Linked DNA regions of Homo sapiens: all the other regions are linked to region 1. The links are contacts of gene promoters, found by promoter capture Hi-C in blood cells and fetal thymus (Javierre and others, 2016). All regions are on one chromosome and are shown on one strand. Each heading gives the region's core, a stretch centred on a gene start or on the middle of the fragment in contact. The rest is flanking DNA. Distances are from core to core; before and after follow the strand shown.

Region 1 (5,055 bases), core at 710-3,209:
CACAGTAAGTATTTTAATAAATATGTTGTGTTATATGTATGTTATATAGCGCACATACTTTTGAAAGAATGAGTTCTTTTTACAATTGTATTGAAAAAACTCCTTCACTTTACTTGGGACAAGCAAATAAACTAACAACATCATATTGTTTTCCGAGGTTACTTTTATGGAGAAGTATTGTTATGAAAAAAGGGAGGCATCTGAGGAGTGGAAACAGAGAAATGAGTGACTGAGATCAGTGTCTTATTTTGACCATCTTTTCCAAGTGCTGCATCCTCCCAAACACAACATGAACTCAACACTTAATAAAGCTGCAGTCCTACGTGTTTTATTTGTGTAAGAAACTAAGTCCAAAACATTCTGCAACGCGAGTAAAAATTCACTTCTGCAATATATTAAACACACATGAACACAGTGTTTTCAGTTTGAAGCAAGATACTGTGGACTCTAAAATATCCAGTAACTATATTTAGTATGAAGAGTGGATGTTTATATCTAGTTGGCCAACACATTGATTCTAGTCATCCACTTAGGAAGAAGAGGGTGTGGCAAATCTGCAGCCTAGGAAAACACAAACTCAGTTTCTTCGTAATAGATACTGATTCGTTTTGTTTACAAAGATTTTAAAAAACAGTTATGCATTCAAATACTTTAAAAACGAAAATAACTTTATGGTTTGATTTATTTCCGTTGAATTTTAAAGAACTTTGTAGCAAGGTTTAAGATTGCTTAAAGAGCCTGAGTTCGGATTCCTAAAATAGTGCATTGGGAAGGAAGCATAAATCTCTAGGATATTTTCTTCACATTATCTTCAGACATGACCAAATGAAGTGTAACTACCCTTACACTCTAAGAGAATTAAACTATAATGACATATGTGGCATGAAACTTTAGTCTTTCTCTGGAAAAAACGGGAGGAGGGAAGGTTTGGAAGAACTAGAGGATACTAGTTTCATCATGAATTTGGTGATTTGTTCCAAAGTAAATTGCAATAAAAATGAGGGGTGGGGAAAAATGATGGAAAGATAGCTGTGAAGAGCTTTACTTAAAATTGTCTTAGCTGTTTAGCTAGGAACTGTAATTAGAAGGACTGGAGGATGTATTCCGCTGGCTTTATTCTCCAGGCTCTACGGGCCCTCCAATTTGAATAAACCTGGAAAACTCTCCTGACCTCTATTTCTTTGACAAAACATCTTTCTTTCGTGGTGACTTCCAAGGGAGGAAATTGGTACCCCAAGCTAGCCGTGAGGACCCCACCACATGCCCAAGGCATTGAACGCCAGACTCCCTAAGGACTCAGGGATTCTAAAAGTCCCCTCTCAAATCAGCGCCTAAAATACGCCTGTACAGCCACGCGCTACCGCTCCCAGCAGCGCGGGACTTCGGGACAGGGACAAGGCGGACGCTAGGCGTGCGCCCCCGGGGAGCCCCCACGTTCCGGCCACGCCCACCCTGGCCCTGGGCAGCCGCGCCCGGGAGGCCTGGCACCGAGGCGGGCGGGTCCCCGAGTTAGGGGCCCGCGAGTCGGCTGGGCGCCCCCGCCTCTGCCCGGGCAGTGCCCCGCCGAGTGCTCAGAACTGCGGACAAATAGGCTGGAGGGCCGGGCCGCGGAAGGCGTTCCCACACCGGCCAGTCTCCGTCCACCAGGAAGCAAACTCCTCGTACCTCCCTGGGGACCGAAAACTGCCGGTGCCGCCGCACCCGTCGCCGCCGCCGCCTGCTCATGGAGAGCCCGGGCTGCCGCCGCCGCCGCCGCCGCCGCTGCCTCATCTATGAGTACCGCCGGCTGTCTCGGCCTCCCCCGGCGTGAGTTCTGGGCTCTGGCATGGCCTCCATGGCAGCCGCCGCGGCGGGAGCCACAGCAGCTCCAGCGCCCAGGCCCAATCTCACTGGACCCACGGAGCCAGGACAGTGGGACACGTCGCTTCTTATTACGGAGGAAGATTCGGCACGACCTCCGCCCCCCTCCCCCCAACCCCCCCGTTTTCAGCCGCCTGACAGCGCAGCTGCGCAGGCGCGAAGACGCCCCAGCCTAATGTGCGTGTGTCGGCTGTGTATACAGCATCCAGATTCGCCCAATGGGAACCAGGATCAGGTGTGGGGGGCGGGACCTCGCAGAGAGGGGCGGGGTTCCACTGGTAGAAGGTGGGTGGGGAAGCCGGAAGTGGGCAGAGTTTGCACGGAGGCGGAGCTTTATTGGCAAACCTGATTGGCTTTTTGAGGTTTGTACCATTTTAGGACTTGATTTTAGTTTGCTTCTGGGTCTTGTTTTCTCAAATTCTTAACCTAGAAAGAAAGCTTTGTTTTCTCAGTAAATTACGGTTTTTTAAGCGTTTAAGTATTTACTTAGAAAACAGTTGAATTGATCTGTTAAATGCCAGCTTTAGTGTTCAAGTTAATTATTGGCCAATATACTGTAACTTACAGTGGAAGTTAACCCCATTTTGAAAAATTAGATTGTTTTAATTCCATTGTGAAGTTGAAAAAATTGGGTTTTGGAGATAATAAGGTCCCACACAGCAAGTGACGGAGCTGGAAATTACAGTTAGGACAACTTAATGCTAGTTTGTGGGCTCAACCACTATTTCTGTTTATTAGGGCCGAGTTTTTGTATCTCCCGTAAAGAAGCAAGGCCCTGTATGGCTCTGCATCTGGAGAACACAGGCCACCCTGCAAAAACTACCTCTCCTTGCAAGTAGGCATGGAGATCTGGTTGAGATTTTCCCCATCCAGCCTTTCAACAAATAATGAGGGTCTGGAAAGTTAGCTCTAACGTTCAGAACACGTGAGGGCTAATGAGAGAGCTCAAGGCTATCCTAGTAAATCAGTGTGGTTTTCCGTCACAGGCTGAGCCTGGGAGAGGCTGGATGCCTTCTTGACCGGTGTGATGGTCGGCCAAAGCTATGGAGGGGAACTTCCTCATGGATCTCTCTAAAAAAGTCTAGAAATGGAAGAGAGACTTCCATTTCTTGAGTTTTGGCTCTGCCCAAAAAAGAATAATTAATAGCTCTGGCAAAGCCTGCTCTTTTTAGTTTCCTGTTTTTTCTTATTTCTTATGGTATTTTATAGATGAGGAAACTGAGGCTCTTAGAGATAAACTAGTGTGTTGGAAAACTTGCAAAAAGTTCACTCTCAATATTAATCCTCTCCTACAGGTAGAAAAGCCCTTTAAAAATGTTTGTAAATGTGGATTATGTGTTTAATTATAAATCTCTCACAAGACATGGAGTTCATTTTATACTGATTAGGTCATTCTCTTCCTGAAAACAGCCATAGTATGGTGGATGACACCATTTCTGGAGAATAGTATTGAGATTGCTCATTAAACTCTGCCGAGTCTCAGCTAGATGGAGGAAGCATGGATTCCTTGAATACTTGGATAACTCACAAACATCACTGAGGCCTTTAACTGAAATTTCCATTCTGCATCTTTTCCACCGTCTTCAAAATCTGACATCTGAGTTGTAGGGTTTTTTTAGATATATTTACTGAAGTATAATTGGCATAGAATATATAGAGCATACTTAAAGTGTATAATTTTTATCAGTTTTGACATATGTATAACCCCTTAAACCATCACTGTGATCAAATGAGTATGCCCATCACACTTAAGTTTCTGCTTACCTACCGCCCCCCAACTCTGCCTTTTTTTTTTTTTTTTTTTTTTTTTTTTTTCAGAATCCTGATCTGTTACCCAGGCTGGAGTGCAGTGAATGATCTCGGCTTATTGCAACTTCCGCCTCCCAGGATCAAGAGTTTCTGGTATCTCAGCTTTCCGAGTAGCTGGGATTATAGACGTGCACCACCATGCCTAGCTAATTTTTGTATTTTTAGTAGAGGCAGAGTTTCACCATGTTGGCCAGGCTGGTCTCAAACTCCTGGCCTCAGGTGATCTGCCCACCTCGGCCTCCCAAAGTGCTGGGATTACAGGCGTGAGCCACCACACCTGGCCCTCATTCTCTTAGCAGTGTATTTTGAAGAGAAGTTTTAACTTTTAATAAAGTTTAATTTATTTATTATTTTATGGATTACATTTCTAGTGTTGTTTCTAAGAAATTTTTGCCTACCCCAAGCTCACAAAGAAATTTTCCTATGTTTTCTTATAAAAGTTTTATGTGTTCAAGCTGTACATTTAGATGTATGATGCATTGTAGTTAACTTTCTTATATAGTTTGAGGCATGTATCCAAGTTCATATTTGATGTATGGATACCCAGTCATCGCAGCAATTTTTTTTTTGAAAAGCCTGTACTTTTTCCACTGGGTTGCTTTTGTGCTTTTGTCAAAAATTAGTTGCGCAGCTTGGGCGCAGTAGCTCACGCCTGTAATCCCAGCAGTTTGGGAGGCCGAGGCGGGCGGATCACAAGATCAGGAGATCGAGACCATCCTGGCTAACATGGTGAAACCCCGTCTCTACTAAAAATATAAAAAATTAGCCGGGCATGGTGGCGGGTACCTGTAGTCCCAGCTACTTGGGAGGCTGAGGCAGGAGAATGGCGTGAACCAGGGGGGCGGAGCTTGCAGTGAGCCGAGATCACACCACTGCACTCCAGCCTGGGCGACAGAGCGAGTCTCCATCTAAACAAAAAAACAAAAACAAAAAAATTAGTTGCCCAATACCATTTTATAAACACTTTATTTATTTATTATCAATCATCAACCATATGTCACACAGTATGCTAGCAGTGGAGATATCAGTAAGTGTTCTTTGGTTGCAAAGACTGGAGACCAATATTGTTAATTTAAATAGGACATTTTTGGGGTTTTTTTTTGTTTTGTTTTGTTTTTTTTTTGAGACAGACTCTCGCTCTTTCGCCCAGGCCGGACTGCAGTGGCGCTATCTCGGCTCACTGCAAGCTCCGCCTCCCAGGTTCACGCCATTCTCCTGCCTCAGCCTCCCGAGTAGCTGGGATTACAGGCACCTGCCACTGTGCCCAGCTAATTTTTGTATTTTAAGTAGAGACGGGGTTTCACTGTGTTGGCCAGGCTGGTCTTGAATTCCTGACCTCAGGTGATTCACCCGCCTCAGCCTCCCAAAGTGCTGGGATTACAGGTG
Region 2 (5,055 bases), core at 1,771-4,270, 5.5 Mb after region 1:
AAAAGGAAACAATCAGCAAAATTAAAAAGCAAGCTGAAGAGGCCGAGGCAGGCAGATTCCTTGAGCCCAGGAGCTCGAGACCAGCCTGGACAACATGATAAAACCCCATCTGTACAAAAAAATACAAAAAGTAGCTGGGTGTGGTAGCATGCATGTGTAGTCCCAGCTGCTTGGGAGGCCCAGGTGGGAGGATCCATTGAGCCCAGGAGATCAAGGCTACAGTAAGCCATGATTACACCACTGCATTCCATGCTGGGAAACAGCAGGACCCTGTCTAAAAGAAAAAAAATGTGAGATAAAAGTAAGGAGGCTGAGGCAGGTAGATCACTTGAGGTCAGGAGTTCAAGACCAGCCTGGCCAACATGGTGAAACCTGTATCTACTGAAAAAAAAAAAAAATAGGCATGGTGGTGCACACTTGTAATCCCAGCTACTTGGGAGGCTGAGGCAGGAGAATTGCTTGAATCTGGGAGCCAGAGGTTGCAGTGAGCCGAGATGGTGCTATTGCACTCCAGCCTGGACCACAGAGTGAGACTCTGTGTCCAAAAAACAAAGAGAAATGGAAGTTAAATATTAGCAAACCATCTATCAAGGTAAAAGGTTAATATCCAAAATATGGTAACTCGTATAACTCAATAGCAAAATAACAAATTTAACCTAATTTTAAAACAAGCAAAAGACTAATAGACATTTCTCCAAAGAAGACATACAAATGGCCTCCAGGCATATGGCAAGATGCTGAGTTTCATTAATCATGGAAATGCAGATCAAAACCACAGTGAGATATCAACTCACATCTTAGCATGTCTATTATCAAAAATAAATTTAAGGTCAGGCATGGTGGCTCACGCCTGTAATTCCAACACTTTGGGAGGCTGAGATGGGCAGATTGGTTGAGTCCAGGAGTTCAAGACCAGCCTGGCCAACATGCTGAAACCCTGTCTCTACTAAAAAATACAAAAAAAGTTAGCCAGGCATGGTGGCGCACACCTGTAGTCCCAGCTGCTCAGGAGGCTGAGGTGAGAGAATCGCCTGAGCCTGGGAAGTTGAGGCTGCAGTGAGCCTAGATGGTGCCCTGCACTCCAGCCTTGGCAACGAGAGTGAGACCGTCTCTAAATAAATAGACATTTGTGAGGATGTAGAAAAATTGGAGCTTTTATACAACTGTTTGTGGGAATGTAAAATGGTGCAGCCACTATGGAAAGCAGTATGGAGATTCATCAAAAATAGCACTGCCGTATGATCCAATAATGGAATATTTCTGGATATGTATACAAAAAGAGTGTAATCAGGATCTCAAAGATATCTGCACACCCATGTTCACTGCACCATTATTCACATTAGCCAATATAAGGAAACAACCCAAATGTCCATCAAAAGATGCATAAAGAAAATGTGATATAGACATGCAATGGAATAATATTAAGCCTTTAAAAAAGAGAGAAATCCTACTATATTCAACAAACTGGATGAACCCACAGGACATTATGCTACATGAAATAAGCCAGTCACAGAAGGACAAATACTACATGACTCCACTTATGTGAGGTATCTAAAATAGTCAAACTCCCAGAAGCAGAGAATAAAATGGTGATTGCTGGGGCTGTAAGGAGGGAAAAATGGAAAACTGTTAATCAATGAGTATAAAATTTCTGTTCTGCAAGATGAAAAATTTCTAGAGATCTGTTGTAAAGCATAGTACCTATTAGGATTGTGTGAGTCTGTTGATCAATTTGGGGAGAATTGACATGTTAACAGTATTGAAACTTCCAACCAACAGACATGGCATTCCATTTACTTAGATCTTGTTTGATTTATTTCAACAATGTTTTGTAGTTTTCAGTGTATAGGACTGATACTTCTGTTCAGTTTATTCCTAAATATCTTGTATTTTTGATACTACTGTAAAAAGTTGTTTTTTAAATTTTAATTTCCAAATGTTCATTGCTAGCATGTAGAAATACAATTGATTTTTATATATTGACCTTGTATCCTGTGACCTTACTAAACTTGCTAACTTTACTGAACTCATAGTTATAGTAGCTTTTTTTAGATTCCTTAGAATTTTTGTGTAAATGATCATGTAATTGGCAAATAAGGACACTTCTGCTTCTTTCTTTCCAATCCATATTCTTTTTATGGATGAATAGTTTTATGGAGTATAGTTTTAATAGCTGATTTAAGTTCTTTCCCTAAATCCTTCATCTGCCATTTCTGAGTATATTTCTGTTGATGGATTTTTCTCCTAGTTGTGAGCCGTGTTACCTTACCACTGTGTGGACTCTACTGCTTTCCAGCGGTTCTCTCTTCAGACTTGTAGTTTTGCCCAACACATGTACAAATCATTACTCAGCCAAAAACCTGGGTAATATGAAGTCTTTGCAAATCTGTGAAGCTCTTTCTGTACAGTTTGTCTCTGGTACTCTGCCCTAAAATTCTAGACTGCAAACTCCCCAAAATCTCTTGTCTCCTCGATTCAGGGAGACTACCAGGCTATGTTGTAACCTGAAAACTCTCTCCAGACCATAATCGGAGGCAATTTATAATACACACCTCATTTTTTCCCCATCTTTCAGGATCACAGTCCTATATTGCTTATTGTCCAATGTCTGAAAACAATTATTTTGTTTTCTCTAGTTTTATAGTTGTTTACAGAGGGAAGGCCGTTGTCCTTAGTGTTTCTTTGTAGAAGAAGTAAAAGTCTCTTACATGTGTATTTTAATACCACCAAATAAATGAAAGTTGAGTTGAAAGGAGAAAAATACTGAGACTGTATGACTGTCCCCTCTGAGTATTATTAGAAATTGTGTGACATATTTTTTCTACTTTATATAATACCTTATATTCTCCAAAGCCAAATATCCATTCTTTTAGAAGCCTTTAATTTTTTTTATTTTTCTTTTTAAGAAAACTTATGGAAAACAAATTAACGTCTTTATAATTTATGGATATGGTAGCAACTTTAGAATAAAGAAAGGATAAAAACCTTAAAAGCAGACATACTTATATATGTTAGTAATGTATTCTTTGGAGTCTAATATGGAAGCCATTCTCACAAGAACAGTTTTATATCCTTTCTGTAACAGAAAAAAATACGGTTTTTTTGTTCGATGTCTCCTTGAAATGTTTTTTAAAATACAGTTTAGAATCACATGTCAAGTTGATTAGATTTACCAGAGTGACTAAAACTTTTTAAAGGTCAAGAAAAATTAGATTATTTCCATTAGTAATTCCTGTGATGTTTTCCTTGACATGTTCTACATTGGCTGTTTTATAACCTTTTCCTATTTACTACTTGGATTCTTCATATTTTTCTTATGTGGGGTGATTTTATATATGAATTTTTTAAAATGTAGCATTTGTTACACATTTTTCTCACAATGTTGGTTTGCCCTTTTTAGTGAGGTATGCTGTTGGATATCAAGTTTTTCATTTTTATATAGTCAAAAATGTATCACTTCCTAATTTATTGCTATTCTAAGATTAGGAAGACTTGACTATCTTAAAAGCACCTCAGGTTCAACATGTGCAAAATAGTGCTCATTGTTTACTTCACCACCATGCCTCCACACCCCCCCAAAAAATTCCCTGATTTTCATTTCTAATATTCCCTATCCCAGTAAGAAAGAAACTGTACCATGTTAACACAACCCAGAAAATTTAGGAGTTATTCTTGCCTACTGTCCCCTCACCCCCTATAGCTAATCCAGCACCTATTCCTGTCCATTTTACCTCTGATATGTAGCTTGAGGCTGTCCATTTTCTCTACATTGACCAACAAAACTCCAGTTCAAGGTGCCAGTATCTCTCATCTCTATTACTAAAATACTTTCTTAACTCATCTCCCCACTTTGGTTCTGGCATCCTTCCAGACTCTTCTAATGCCACAGTAACATTTTCTAGACAGAAATTTAATCATTTTATTCCTTTTTTTTTTTTTTTTTTGAGACAGAATCACACGCAATGGCGTGATCTCGGCTCACTGCAACCTCCCATCTCCCAGGTTCACGCGATTCTCCTGCCTTAGCCTCCCAAGTAGCTGGAATTACAGGAGCACACCACCACACCTGGCTAATTTTTTGTATTTTTATTAGACATGGGGTTTCACTATGTTGGCCGGACTGGTCTCGAACTCCTGACCTCGTGATCCACCCACCTCAGCCTCCCAAAGTGCTGGGATTACAGGTGTGAGCCACCGCGCCCAGCCTATTCTTTTCTTAAAATGATTGTTGAGCAGCTTACAAAATTTTTTCTTTGACATAGAACCCTGTCTACCTCTACGTCATCATTTCATGTTCACTTACTCTCTGTACTCCAGTCACTCTGGATTCTTTTCAGCTCGCTTTGATCTCTTCAAGTGCTGCAAATGCTTTTCCTTTTCCCTATAATGCTGTCTCCCTACCTTACTTCTCCTGGTTAACTTCCACTTATTCTTAAGATCCATTTAAAGCCGGGCACGGTGGCTCACGCCTGTAATCCCAGCACTTTGGGAGGCCAAGGCGGGTGGATCACGAGGTCAGGAGATCGACACCATCCTGGCTAACACGGTGAAACCCCATCTCTACTAAAAATACAAAAAATTAGCTGGGCATGGTGGCGGGCGCCTGTAGTCCCAGCTACTCGGGAGGCTGAGGCAGGAGAATGGCATGAACCCGGGAGGCGGAGCTTGCAGTGAACCGAGATCGTGCCACTGCACTCCAGCTTGGGCGACAGAGCGAGACTCCATCTCAAACAAACAAAAAAAAAGATCCATTTAAATCAATTTAGGGACGCCTGCTCTCCCTTACAGTGTCAAATATGCCCATGATATGTAGCACCATGTACTTGTCCTTCACAGCACTGAATCACTATTGTGTCTCTAGTATATAGCACAGTTCCTGGTACTTCGTAGGCCCTCAGGGAATTGTTGGTTAAATGAATAAACGAATTAATGATTATTCCTCAAGCTAAATTTTAGAATCATTGGGCTTTTCCGTGAAATTAAGGTGATTTACTTGAGAAAATGTGACATACCATCAAGAAATGGTGTTTTTCAGGCCAGACATGGTGGCTCATA
Region 3 (5,055 bases), core at 1,770-4,269, 5.4 Mb after region 1:
CTTCCTTTTTCCTTGCTCCTATGCTTTTACTCATGTTGCTCCACCTGGAATAACATTCCTTCTTCTGCATAATATCCAAGTGTTACATTCCTCCAGCCTTCAAAGACCAGCTCAAAAGCCACCATATTCATGAAGTCTTTGCAGAATTTACCCTTCCCTACGTTAAAGTTACTAACATCTGTCTCCTCCACTACATTAAAAACTCTTGGAAACCAGGGATTATGTTGTGGTTATTTTTGTATCTTCTATGACAATAACAACTAACACTTGCCTTATATAATAAATATATGTAGAATTAAGGTTCTTAACATCATTGCTCTTTTTTAAAGAGCAGTGTAAAGAGCACGTAGCCACCCCCAGCGGGCTGGCAGGAGCTCCGATAAAAGCTATCATTTAGAGATGGTGTTGAGCCTGCAGTCCCACTATTTGGGGGGCTGAGGTGGGAGAATCATTTGAGTCCAGGAATTTGAGGCTGTACTGATCACGCCACTACACTTCAGCCTGGGTGACAGAGCAAGATCCCATTCATTAATTAAAATATATAGAAAAAGATGGTGTTGGGAGAGTAAGTTTAAACTGCCTAGCTACACGAGCCCACTCCTTCATTCATCCAACAAATTCTTACTGCCCAGAGCCTGTGCTCAGCACTAGAGATAAAAGATGACTAAGAACCTGCATGCAAGAGTTGCAACTGCTAAAGAAAGCCCCCTAAGGTTAAAGTCAGTTATAAGAAAAAGTGCTGAGAGCTGCTATCATGGAAAAAGGTTGCCAAGTGGTATTAGATAGACAGAAAAGCTACCAGAAAGGAAAACAAGAAAAAGCCTCATTTGGAACAGGCAGAAGGTCAAGCTGGAGTTCCCAGTGTGTTCTGTGTTTCTAACTCACACATTCCAACCTTGGAGGGAGAGAGGGACATCCCCACTGTCTACTTAACAGGGACAGATGATAGTGATCATGAGAATTTCAGTACAGTTTCCCTCTAGGAAATCTACAGAAACAAGGTGAGGCCTGCAGTTATTTATAGAAGCTGGATTACTCTCTTGGGTTTGTGGTGGAAAGCATAAACCTGGAAAAGATGACTGTCTTTCCTTCCCTTCCTTCCTTTCTCTCTCTCTCCTGTCGTCTCTCTCTCTCTCCCTCCTCTCCTCTCTCCTCTCAACTCTCCTCTTCTCCTCTTTCCTCCTCTCTCTCCTCTCCTCTCTTCTCTTCTCTCTCTCCCTCCTCTCTCTCCTCTTCTCCTCTCCCCCTCTCCTCTAGTTTAACGTATGAGATTTCTATATAACCCAGAAATTAACATTTTATTACAAACCCACCAAAATTCAATAGTTTGAACCTTCTGGTCAATCATCCTATCACATGTTTTCTCCTTAGAAGTGAAGTTTTTGTTTGACAGGGACACTTTTTAAATAGGATGGAGAACAACACTAAGATTATTACTCTGTAAAATAAACACTATTTTACTCTATAAAATAAACACAATTTTACGATTTTAAAGCCTTCCTTTGCTTAACAGATACAAAATGTAACCACATTCCCTGAGCCTAAAGGAGTCCTGATGGCAATAGAAGATGCTGTCAGTCCTTATAGCTCAAGTGGATAAGAACTATAGTGGAAGCTTCAAATAGAATCACTGGTGTAACAACAGTAGCCTTTCAGATAAGGATTTCAAGTGGATATGTATGGAGGACAGAAACAAAAAGAATGTCTCCCATAAACTGACAAGTGAAGAGCACTATTCCCAATACCAAAAACTGTTTATACCTGAAAACAAGCTTATATGAAATTTAAATAGAACTTGATGGCATGAAAAAATATTTTTAATTTGGATTCAGGCAGCTCTAGAAGGAGTTGATGGAGCTCTATTTCAATATTTCAACACTGACATGACTCAGTTATTTATCTGTGCTTTACTGGGTTTTGCTCTTATAAGCAACGGCCTATCTTGCTGTAACTTCTGTTTAAAAACAAACCAAAACTAGCCAGGCATGGTGGCTCATGCTTGTAATCCCAGCACTTTTGGGAGGCTGAGGCAGGTGGATCACTTGAGGGCAGGAGTTTGAAACCAGTTTAGCCAACATGGCAAAACCCCATCTCTACTAAAAATACAAAAATTAGCCAGGCATGGTGCCGCATACCTGTAATCCCAGCTACTCGGGAGGCTCAGGCAGGAGAATCGCTTGAACCTGGGAGGCAGAGGCTGCAGTGAGCCGAGATCACACCACTGCACTTCAGACTGGGTGACAGAGCAAGACTCTGTCTCAAAAACAAACAAACGAAAAAAAAAAACTAAACTAAAAGAAAGAATCTCAGAAAGGAGATTCAGCCAGGTGCAGTAGCTCACACCACTTTGGGAGGCCATGGCAAGAGGATCACTTGAGCCCAGGAGTTTGAGACCAGCCTGGGAAACATAGTGGGACACCATCTCTACAAAACAAAAACAAAAACAAAAAACAATAATAAAAAATCAGCCAGGGCCGGGCGTGGTGGCTCACATCTGTAATTCCAGCACTTTGGGAGGCCAAGGTGGGTGGATCACTAGCCTGGCCAACATGGTGAAACCTGGTCTCCACTAAAAATACAAAAAAATTAGCCAGGTGTGGTGGCAGGCACCTGTAATCCCAGCTACTTGGGAGGCTGAGGCAAGAGAATCGCTTGAACCCAGGAGGCGGAGGTTGTGGTGAATCGAGATCGTGCCATTGCACTCCAGCCTGTGCAACAAGAGTGAAACTTCATCTCAAAAAAAAAAAAATCAGCCAGGTGTGGTGGTGCACACATATATTCCCAGCTACTGAGAAGGCTGAGGCAGGAGGATCGCTTAAGCCCAGGAAGTCAAAGGTGCAGTGAGCCATGATGGCATTACTGCACTCCAGCCTGGGTGACAGAGTGAGACCCTGTCTCAAAAACAAGAAAAATAAAAAGAAATATCTAATTGACCAGCAAATGGCCACTTCTATGTAGGCAATGTCTTCATTGCATCTTCCGGTAGGCCACTGGCCTGGGTACAGTTAGAGTGAAAGAGCACTTGACCCAACAATCACCAATTAGCTATAAACAAGCTGGCAAAGTCACATGGCACTACACAGAGCCACCATATGCAAGGAACTGGCTAGAACTGCTTCCCTGGCAATGACTGTGGCCATAGCTAGTTTCACACAGATGGAGCAGCATCCTTTCTTTAGAAATCCAGGCACTAATATGCTTTGTTCTCAGCTCTGGGCCCTCAGCCCAAAATCACAGGGAATGGGAAAAGCTCTACTTCTCAACTTGCTACATTAGGCTACTTTGAAATTTACATTTTTTATTATTCATTTTAGTAGCTCGACTTAGGAGCCTTTTTTAAATGGTACTCTAGGTAAATTTTTGAATTATTTTTTATTTTTTTTGTATTTTTTCATTATTCATTTTTATATTTTTTATTATTCATTTTAGTAGTTCTACTTAGTAGCCTTTTTTAATGGAACACTTTAGGTAAAATTTTGAAGACAGTTGGACAACAGAAATCCTTATGTTCTTTTGATGTATACAGTAGTTTCTTTCAAAATTGTCCCCAGAGAAATTCCAATATACCCAAAAGGACTCACATTCTACTTCACAAAAAATAAAAAGTTCTCTATGCTATCCAAAAGGAAAAGAAAAAAACAAGATTTTTTTCTTTGTTTAAAATGTTTGAAGGTCTTCCAGCTACAAAAGTTAAGCGTTTGGACTAGTTCATTAGAATTTTGTGTTAACAACCTATCTCAGGCATGAACAAATAACATTTTCGCTACTGGCAAAAAGACAGGCAGAAAAATAAAGACAATTGTGTTTGGGTTGTGGTCTGGGTGGGTGAAGGTGAGGGAAAAATGAGAACACCGCACACTATGAAACTAGCCACCTGCTACAAAGCCCAGCAGTATCTATATTAAACTAAATATAATTTCATATTGGTGTCTCCAAATCTAATTCAGTACCACATGGTTCATTCTATCCTCTTGCTTTTCTGCAACCTTCTTCTCCAATAGTGAGAAACTTGGCTCCCATCAATCACCAAATGTATGGTAATACATTTACTTATTTGTCAGTTTCCAGTATACACGTACAGCAGTTTCAGAATTGCTAACCAATACCCCTGTGAGAAACAACTTTACCAGCTGCAGCATTTATGTACACTTTTGTCTTTAATCTTACAGTTTCTAGTTAAAACACTGTTTTCCAAAAATTATTCAGGTCAGCACCTTTTCCCCCATCCCTTTAGTGAAGTTATATCACATATCTGAAACAAGCTTGTTAGGTTCTTTTGTCACCATTGCATTCCCCTCCGGGATCCCTAACTCTTGGTTGATTGATTTTTTTACTTGCACATATTAAGCTCTTTATGCTATAAAGTTCTATCAGTTTTTTCAAATGCATAGTATATGTCCACCACTACAGTTTACTTTTAACTCTACAACTCCCCCATTCTTTCCCCCAAGTGAAAACTCCCCTTTCCTCAAATCCCTAGCAACCACTGATTGGTTTTCCAGTCTTAAATTTGGCCCTTTCTAGAATGCCATATGAATGGAATCATTCAATATGATGTAGCCTTTTCAGTCTGGCTTCAATAACTTGGGAAAATGCATTTAAGACGCATCCATGTTGTAGCATCAATTGCTTATCATTGAATAATAACCCATTGCATGGATGTACCACCGTTTATGCATTCACCTACTGAAGAACTTCTTGGTTGCTTCTAGTTTTTGATGATTATGAACAAAGCTGACAACTATGATTAAAGCACGTGTATGGATTTACATTTTCAAACCAATTTGGTAAATACCTAAAGGTGCTTTTGCTGGGTCATGTGGTAAGTCTGTGTTTAACTTTAATAAGACACTGCTAAACCATCTTCCAAAGTAGCAAGTATGAGATAACCAGCATTTAGTATTGTCAGGTTTTTTTTTTCTCTTAACCAATCTAACAGGTATGTCAGTAATATCTTGCTGTTTCAATTTCCTTAATGACAAATAATGTTGAGAATCTTTTTATAGATGGTTATTTGCCATCCATAAGTCTTTTTTGCCATCCATAAGTCTTTTT

The links. Contacts are between HindIII fragments. The CHiCAGO score rates a contact against its expected background, and 5 or more counts as called.
Region 2: a fragment that was not itself captured here is called in contact with the fragment with the promoter of DORIP1 in region 1 in 10 of 17 cell types (naive CD8 T cells, non-activated CD4 T cells, activated CD4 T cells and 7 more); the score reaches 25.3 in naive CD8 T cells.
Region 3: a fragment that was not itself captured here is called in contact with the fragment with the promoter of DORIP1 in region 1 in 13 of 17 cell types (total B cells, total CD4 T cells, naive CD4 T cells and 10 more); the score reaches 34.1 in total B cells.

What each region holds. Positions count from the first base shown.
Region 1 is chr14:44,894,179-44,899,233 of GRCh38, reverse strand. It overlaps DORIP1 (dopamine receptor interacting protein 1), which reads right to left and starts at 1,959. Exons shown (of 5, transcript NM_001017923.2): 1 at 1,666-1,959. LOC101927418 (a long non-coding RNA gene) reads left to right here. Exons shown (of 3, transcript NR_110050.1): 2 at 1-4; 3 at 158-326. RefSeq lists silencers at 1,305-1,624, 1,645-1,774 and enhancers at 1,141-1,640, 2,265-2,314. The HindIII fragment of the contact is 3,873 bases long and covers 1-2,300 here.
Region 2 is chr14:39,404,018-39,409,072 of GRCh38, reverse strand. All of the region lies in intron 1 of FBXO33 (F-box protein 33), which reads left to right. Among named protein-coding and RNA genes, the nearest start is that of FBXO33, 26 kb to the left of the region's middle. The HindIII fragment of the contact is 6,248 bases long and covers 1-5,055 here.
Region 3 is chr14:39,450,982-39,456,036 of GRCh38, reverse strand. The region is part of intron 1 of LOC105370461 (a long non-coding RNA gene); the gene reads right to left. Among named protein-coding and RNA genes, the nearest start is that of FBXO33, 21 kb to the right of the region's middle. The HindIII fragment of the contact is 2,490 bases long and covers 1,775-4,264 here.